2 separate regions of the Homo sapiens genome follow, and region 2 is linked to region 1. The links are contacts of gene promoters, found by promoter capture Hi-C in blood cells and fetal thymus (Javierre and others, 2016). All regions are on one chromosome and are shown on one strand. The core of a region is centred on a gene start or on the middle of the fragment in contact, and the rest is flanking DNA. Distances in the headings are between cores, read along the strand shown. Region 1 holds the start of BEX3 (brain expressed X-linked 3). Region 2 holds the start of BEX2 (brain expressed X-linked 2).

The links. The method cuts DNA at HindIII sites, captures the fragments that hold promoters and counts their contacts. A CHiCAGO score of 5 or more calls a contact.
Region 2: the fragment with the promoter of BEX2 here is called in contact with the fragment with the promoter of BEX3 in region 1 in 1 of 17 cell types (fetal thymus); the score reaches 6.9 in fetal thymus.

What each region holds. Positions count from the first base shown.
Region 1 is chrX:103,375,111-103,377,810 of GRCh38, reverse strand. It overlaps BEX3 (brain expressed X-linked 3), which reads right to left and starts at 1,273. Exons shown (of 3, transcript NM_206917.3): 1 at 1,198-1,273; 2 at 705-783; 3 at 1-301. The coding sequence starts at 289. The HindIII fragment of the contact is 24,241 bases long and covers 1-2,700 here.
Region 2 is chrX:103,309,712-103,312,411 of GRCh38, reverse strand. It overlaps BEX2 (brain expressed X-linked 2), which reads left to right and starts at 1,422. Exons shown (of 3, transcript NM_032621.4): 1 at 1,422-1,552; 2 at 1,979-2,054; 3 at 2,431-2,700. The coding sequence starts at 2,436. RefSeq lists a silencer at 1,597-1,686. The HindIII fragment of the contact is 10,238 bases long and covers 1-1,785 here.

The sequences.
Region 1 (2,700 bases), core at 24-2,523:
ATTCATCATGATGGTCATGGTGATTAGAGAGCTCCCCCATAAGGATACGCAGACAATTCCTCAACTGCAGCTCCCTAAGTTTTCTTCTGATTTCTCTCATCTCCTCCATGAATATTTCCATATCATCTCCATCTCCACCCATCCCATCATTGATCTGCCTATTGGGTATGGCCCATCGAAAATTAGGGGCAAGTCGGCGAGCCTGTCCCCGTCGATTTCCTGCAGGCTGGTGGCCTTCACCTCCTCCCAAAGGGCGGTCTTCCTCTCCATTCTGCATAGGCTGCTCCATCTCTTCGTTTTCCTGGTGAATATTTGCCATGATGAGATTTTTTTTTTCTGGTTGTTTTTCTTTGAACACAAGTAAGACAAAGGCAAGGAGAGAGACTGAATGCTTGGTGCTCTGACCAGCAGGATTCAGAGCCCTGATATCAAAGGATTTTTTAATTTCGTTTTTTCCCACCTTAGAAGTTCCGCGCGTCCTCTACGGGGCCTCCAATTAAAGCCCCTCCCTCCAGCTTTCTCCCCTTACCTCCCTTCCCCCAAACCCACCATTTTTCGTTTCCCGGGATTCTTTCCCAGAGCTTTGCAGGCACCAAAATGGAGGACCGGTATAGGAGTGGGGGATGGGGTGGAGGGGGTTGGGGTCTCAGACTGGGCTTTCCTTACGTTCCGACCCCCGCCCCACCACCGTCCCTCGCACCGACCTGGGCCTATCCTTGCAGTCTCCTTCTCCTCCGGATTCTCGCCGCGAGGTGCGCCGCGGAGACACTTAGCCTCGCAGACCTGCAGTCGAGCCGGGGTGGGGGTTGTGGGGGGTGGGGGCTGCTGCAGCGGAACGCTAGCGAAGACCCGCCGCCGCCCGGCCCTTTCCGTGCTCCGAGCCCGGGCTCCCCTCGCTGCCAGCGCCCCGCGTCTCCCGCCCCCCACCCCCACCCCACCCTCGAACGCCCAGCCCCCCGCGGTGTTCGCTGTTTTCCTGCAGGGACTCGGGGGTGGGTTTCCATCGCTCTTGGTGGCTCTGCCGCCCCTGGAAACCCAGCCGCCCCTGCTTCCCCATCCCTGGGGGCCTCTGTGTTCCCAAGCATGTTGGGGTGTGGAGAAAGCTGGCGGGGACCCCCTGCGCTGTTCTGCGCCTGTCGCCGAGGTCGGTCAGCCGCTGCTGGCATGGCCGGGGCTCACGGGCCCCGGAGCCCTTACCTGCTCCGCTTTTCCCCGGGCCGAATGCCAGCCCGCCGAGCTCAGGGCAGCGGGGAGCTGGTAGCCAGACGCGAGTGACGACTGCACCGAAGGCTGCGTCGCTCTGCAGCTCTGGGTCACGTGAGGGCCGCGCGTCACCACCGAGCTCGCCCCCCAACTTGGGCGGCCAGTGCAGCAGGATCTCCCCCTTCCCCCCACCCGCCACCGCCATATGCACGCGCAAAAAACAGCCTCCCTACTCCCGTCTGCATGAGGTGCCCCAGAGCGCACAGCCCTGTCACTCTTCTCGGTCCTCTCCAATCTGAGGGCCCACAAGTGGCATCACTGCTCTGCGGTTGGAGTTTGCCCTCCTCTGGTTACCAGGGAGGGTCTGCATCATCCTCCACCACTGCCCCCTCTCACTTCAGGCCTTGGCTTTGGCCTTTTCTGCTTTCTCTCCTTTTCTACCTGGCAACATGCTTTGCGCTGCACTCCCACTTCTACCCCTTGCGTGTGCACAGCCATCAATGCCCACGTAGCCCCTGAATTCCTACCCTTCTAGAAAATTTAGAGTGAGGGCTAAGGTGGGGAGGCAGGAGGGCATTTGTCAGAAAGCGGGGCAAGGAAGTGGAGTGGACTGTATATATTTCTTTTTATTTCCTTAAAAAATCTGCATGCTTCAGAAAATTATAAATTATAAGTTTTTAATTTTGAAAGAAATGCTGGTTGGGCGCGGTGGCGTACCTGTAATCCCAGCACTTTGGGAGGCCGAGGCGGGTGGATCACTTGAGGCCAGTAGTGTGAGACCAGCCTGGCCAACATGGTGAGACCCCATCTCTACTAAAAATACAAAAATTAGCTGGGCGTGGTGGCGTGCGCCTGTAATCCCAGCTACTCGGGGGGCTGAGGCAGGAGAATCGCTTGAACCTGGGAGGCGGAGGTTGCAGTGAGCCGGGATCGCACCACTGCACTCCAGCCTGGGCGACAGAGCAAGACCCTGTCAAAAAAAAAAAAAAAAAAAAAAAAAAAAAAGGAAATGCTTTATCCTGCACAATGAAATCTCTCATTGTTTATGTTGACCTGTACCACACAAAATATTTTTTCTGGGCTCCACACAACATCAAGCCATTACTTTTGATACATACTAGCTCGTTTAAAATTTTATTTTTGGCCGGGCATGGTGGCTCACGCCTGTAATCCCAGCACTTTGGGAGGCCGAGGCGGGCGGATCACGAGGTCAGGAGATCGAGACCATCCTGGCTAATACGGTGAAACTCCGTCTCTACTAAAAATACAAAAAAATTAGCCAGGCGTGGTGGCACGTGCCTGTAGTCCCAGCTACTCGGGAGGCTGAGGCAGGAGAATCGTTGAACCCGGGAGGCAGAGGTTGCAGTGAGCCGCGTCGCACCACTGCACTTCAGTCTAGGCGGCAGAGCGAGACTCCGTCTCCAAAAAAAAAAAAAAGAAAAGAAAAAAATATATAAAAAGGCGGGACTCTTTCTTTTTCTTTTTTTTTTTTCCCCC
Region 2 (2,700 bases), core at 173-2,672, 66 kb after region 1:
TCATTTTCTTAACCATGTGTTTTAAATGGTAGAAGTTTTTAATTTGGATAAATCCAATTTCTTATTTTTTTCTTTTGTGATCTGTTCTTTTTGTGTCCTAAGGAATTGTTTTCTCAAAGATTGTAAAGTTTTTCTGTATGTTTTATTCTAGAAGTTTTCTAATTTGAGCTTTTACATTTAGGCCTAGGATCCATTTTGAATTAATTTGTGTATAGTATAAATAAAAGGCAAGGCTCCTTTTTTTCCTTTAAGAATTCTGTTATTTCAGCACCATTAGTTTAAAAGACTATACTTTCCATATAGAATTACTTTGATATCTTTGTCAAAAACTAATTAACAACATACGTATGGGTCTATTTCTGGAGTCTATTCTGTTCTATTGATCTACAGGTCTATGTTTACTACTACACTAACTTTATTATTACACCTTAAGTCTTGAAATAATATAATGTAACTCTCAAGATTTGTAGGATATTTTAAAAAAATTATTTGTCTATTCTAGGTCCTTTGCATTTTCAAATAAATTTATGAGTACGTTTGTAATATTTATCTTGTAGCTGCAACCTTCTTAAAATCAATTCTTACTCCTATAGTAGGTTTACCGTAGATGTCTCTGGATTTCCTAAATACATGATTACTTGATCTTTAAATAAAGACATACTTATCGTTTGAACCAGAAATTTGTGAAAAAGGCCTTTTTTTTCCTTTTAGTTATGAAAACCCAACAAGGTTCTGTAGCACTACAACTCACTAGCTCATTTCATAGAAGGGCCTCATGTGTCCAGGGGCCCCTCAAAAGGGGAGCCATCAGCTGCCCTGTCCTTTTCCAAGTTCTAAAAAAGCAGCTGCGTGTAGAGTCTATATTTATATAATGACTTAACAGGACAGGTGGTTGGGACATTTTGCCCAACTTTAATCCCGTCTTTCAAGTAAAAATAACTTTTTTTCCTTTTTAAAGAAGTATATTAATTTTTTGTGTTTTACAAAAGAAATAATACAGAAAAGGTATTAAGAATGAGAAAAGCCTACTCTCTTGTGCTCCTTTCCTGATACACCTCTTCCACTCATTTTAGTGGAGAGAAAACGGAGAATATTGGTAGGAGGACAGAAGGAGGTAGACAGGCAGAAGGAGGTGAATCCTGGGAGCCAAGGGCAGAGAGAGGCAAGTCCCCAGAGAAGTGGGAATGGCCAACAGCTCCCTGAGAAGATACCTTCCGTCCTTCCTGGGCAAGCAGGGGAAGTCTCAAGAATATACAGAGAAGGAAGAGTGGCAGAGCCCAGGCTGGGGATGTTAAAAGGGACTCCCGGTGAGGATGGGGGCGGGCCCGAAAGCACCACCTGACTCCGGGCTGCAGGAGGGGGCGTGGGACGGGGGCGGAGCCTCTGGCGATGACAACAGCCACACGTGATCGGCCAACACTGAGTCTTACCTCGTTGTGGCGTCAGAACCGCCGTCGCTCGCTCCCTTCTCGGCAGTGGTACCTGTTCCCGGTGTCCCTGAGGACGTGCGGGCCAGGTACGGCCCCGAAAGTAGGAAGCGGAGGGGGAGCAGGTAAGGGACCCGGAGGGGGTCCCTGGGGTTGGTGTGGGGGAGCAGCCCCGGCCTGCGGATGCCCCATCCCCGGGCAGCAGCGCGGAGACGCAGCCGGTCCACGATGCAGCCCCGGGGCCCCGCCGCGGGACCGCGAGCCTTGTGTGAGCGGAGGGGTGCCCGGCCCCGCGGGAGCCGGCGATCCTGAGGCTACGACCTTTCGGAAGCACCTGCCTCCGTCACCAGCGCAAGCTTTTCCAACACCCCTGCTCCGCCCTTCTTGATGCAGAAAATGGTGGTCAGCTTGGGGGGCTGGGCGGCTGAGGCGGGGGGCGAGAGCGGCTAGGAGGGCCCGGGCCCGGCGTGGGGAAGGGGCCGGGTGGCGGCGGGTCCTCTCTAGCGTTCCGCTGCAGCAGCCCCCACTCTTCCCACCCCGGCCGTCTGCAGGTTTGCGGGGCCAAGTGTTGCGGCGACGCACCTCACGTCGAGAATCGGGAGGAGGAGACTGCAAGGATAGGCCCAGGTCAGTGCGAGGGACGGTGGTGGGGAGGGGGTCAGAACATGAGGAAAGCCCAGTCTGAGACCCCAATCCGTGCCTTCACCCCCACACTTAGCAATCCCCCACCCCCACCCCTTCTTCGTCCTCCATTTTGGTGCCTGCAGAGGCCTGGAGATGGATCTGCAGAGAAGATGGTGGGCTTTGCGGGAGAGAAGGGCACAGACTGGCTCCCCTCGCCCCCCCGAGGGTACATGGGGCCTCTCTGGTGGAAAAAAAATGAAATTTAAAAAAGGCCTTTGAAATCCAGGGCTCTGAATTTTGAAAGGTGGGTAGTCGGGCCTCTGTCCTCGGTGCTGATCAGTTCACCAAGAATTGAGTCCATTTTCTCTCTGTCTCCTAGGAGTAATGGAGTCCAAAGAGGAACGAGCGTTAAACAATCTCATCGTGGAAAATGTCAACCAGGAAAATGATGAAAAAGATGAAAAGGAGCAAGTTGCTAATAAAGGGGAGCCCTTGGCCCTACCTTTGAATGTTAGTGAATACTGTGTGCCTAGAGGAAACCGTAGGCGGTTCCGCGTTAGGCAGCCCATCCTGCAGTATAGATGGGACATAATGCATAGGCTTGGAGAGCCACAGGCAAGGATGAGAGAGGAGAATATGGAAAGGATTG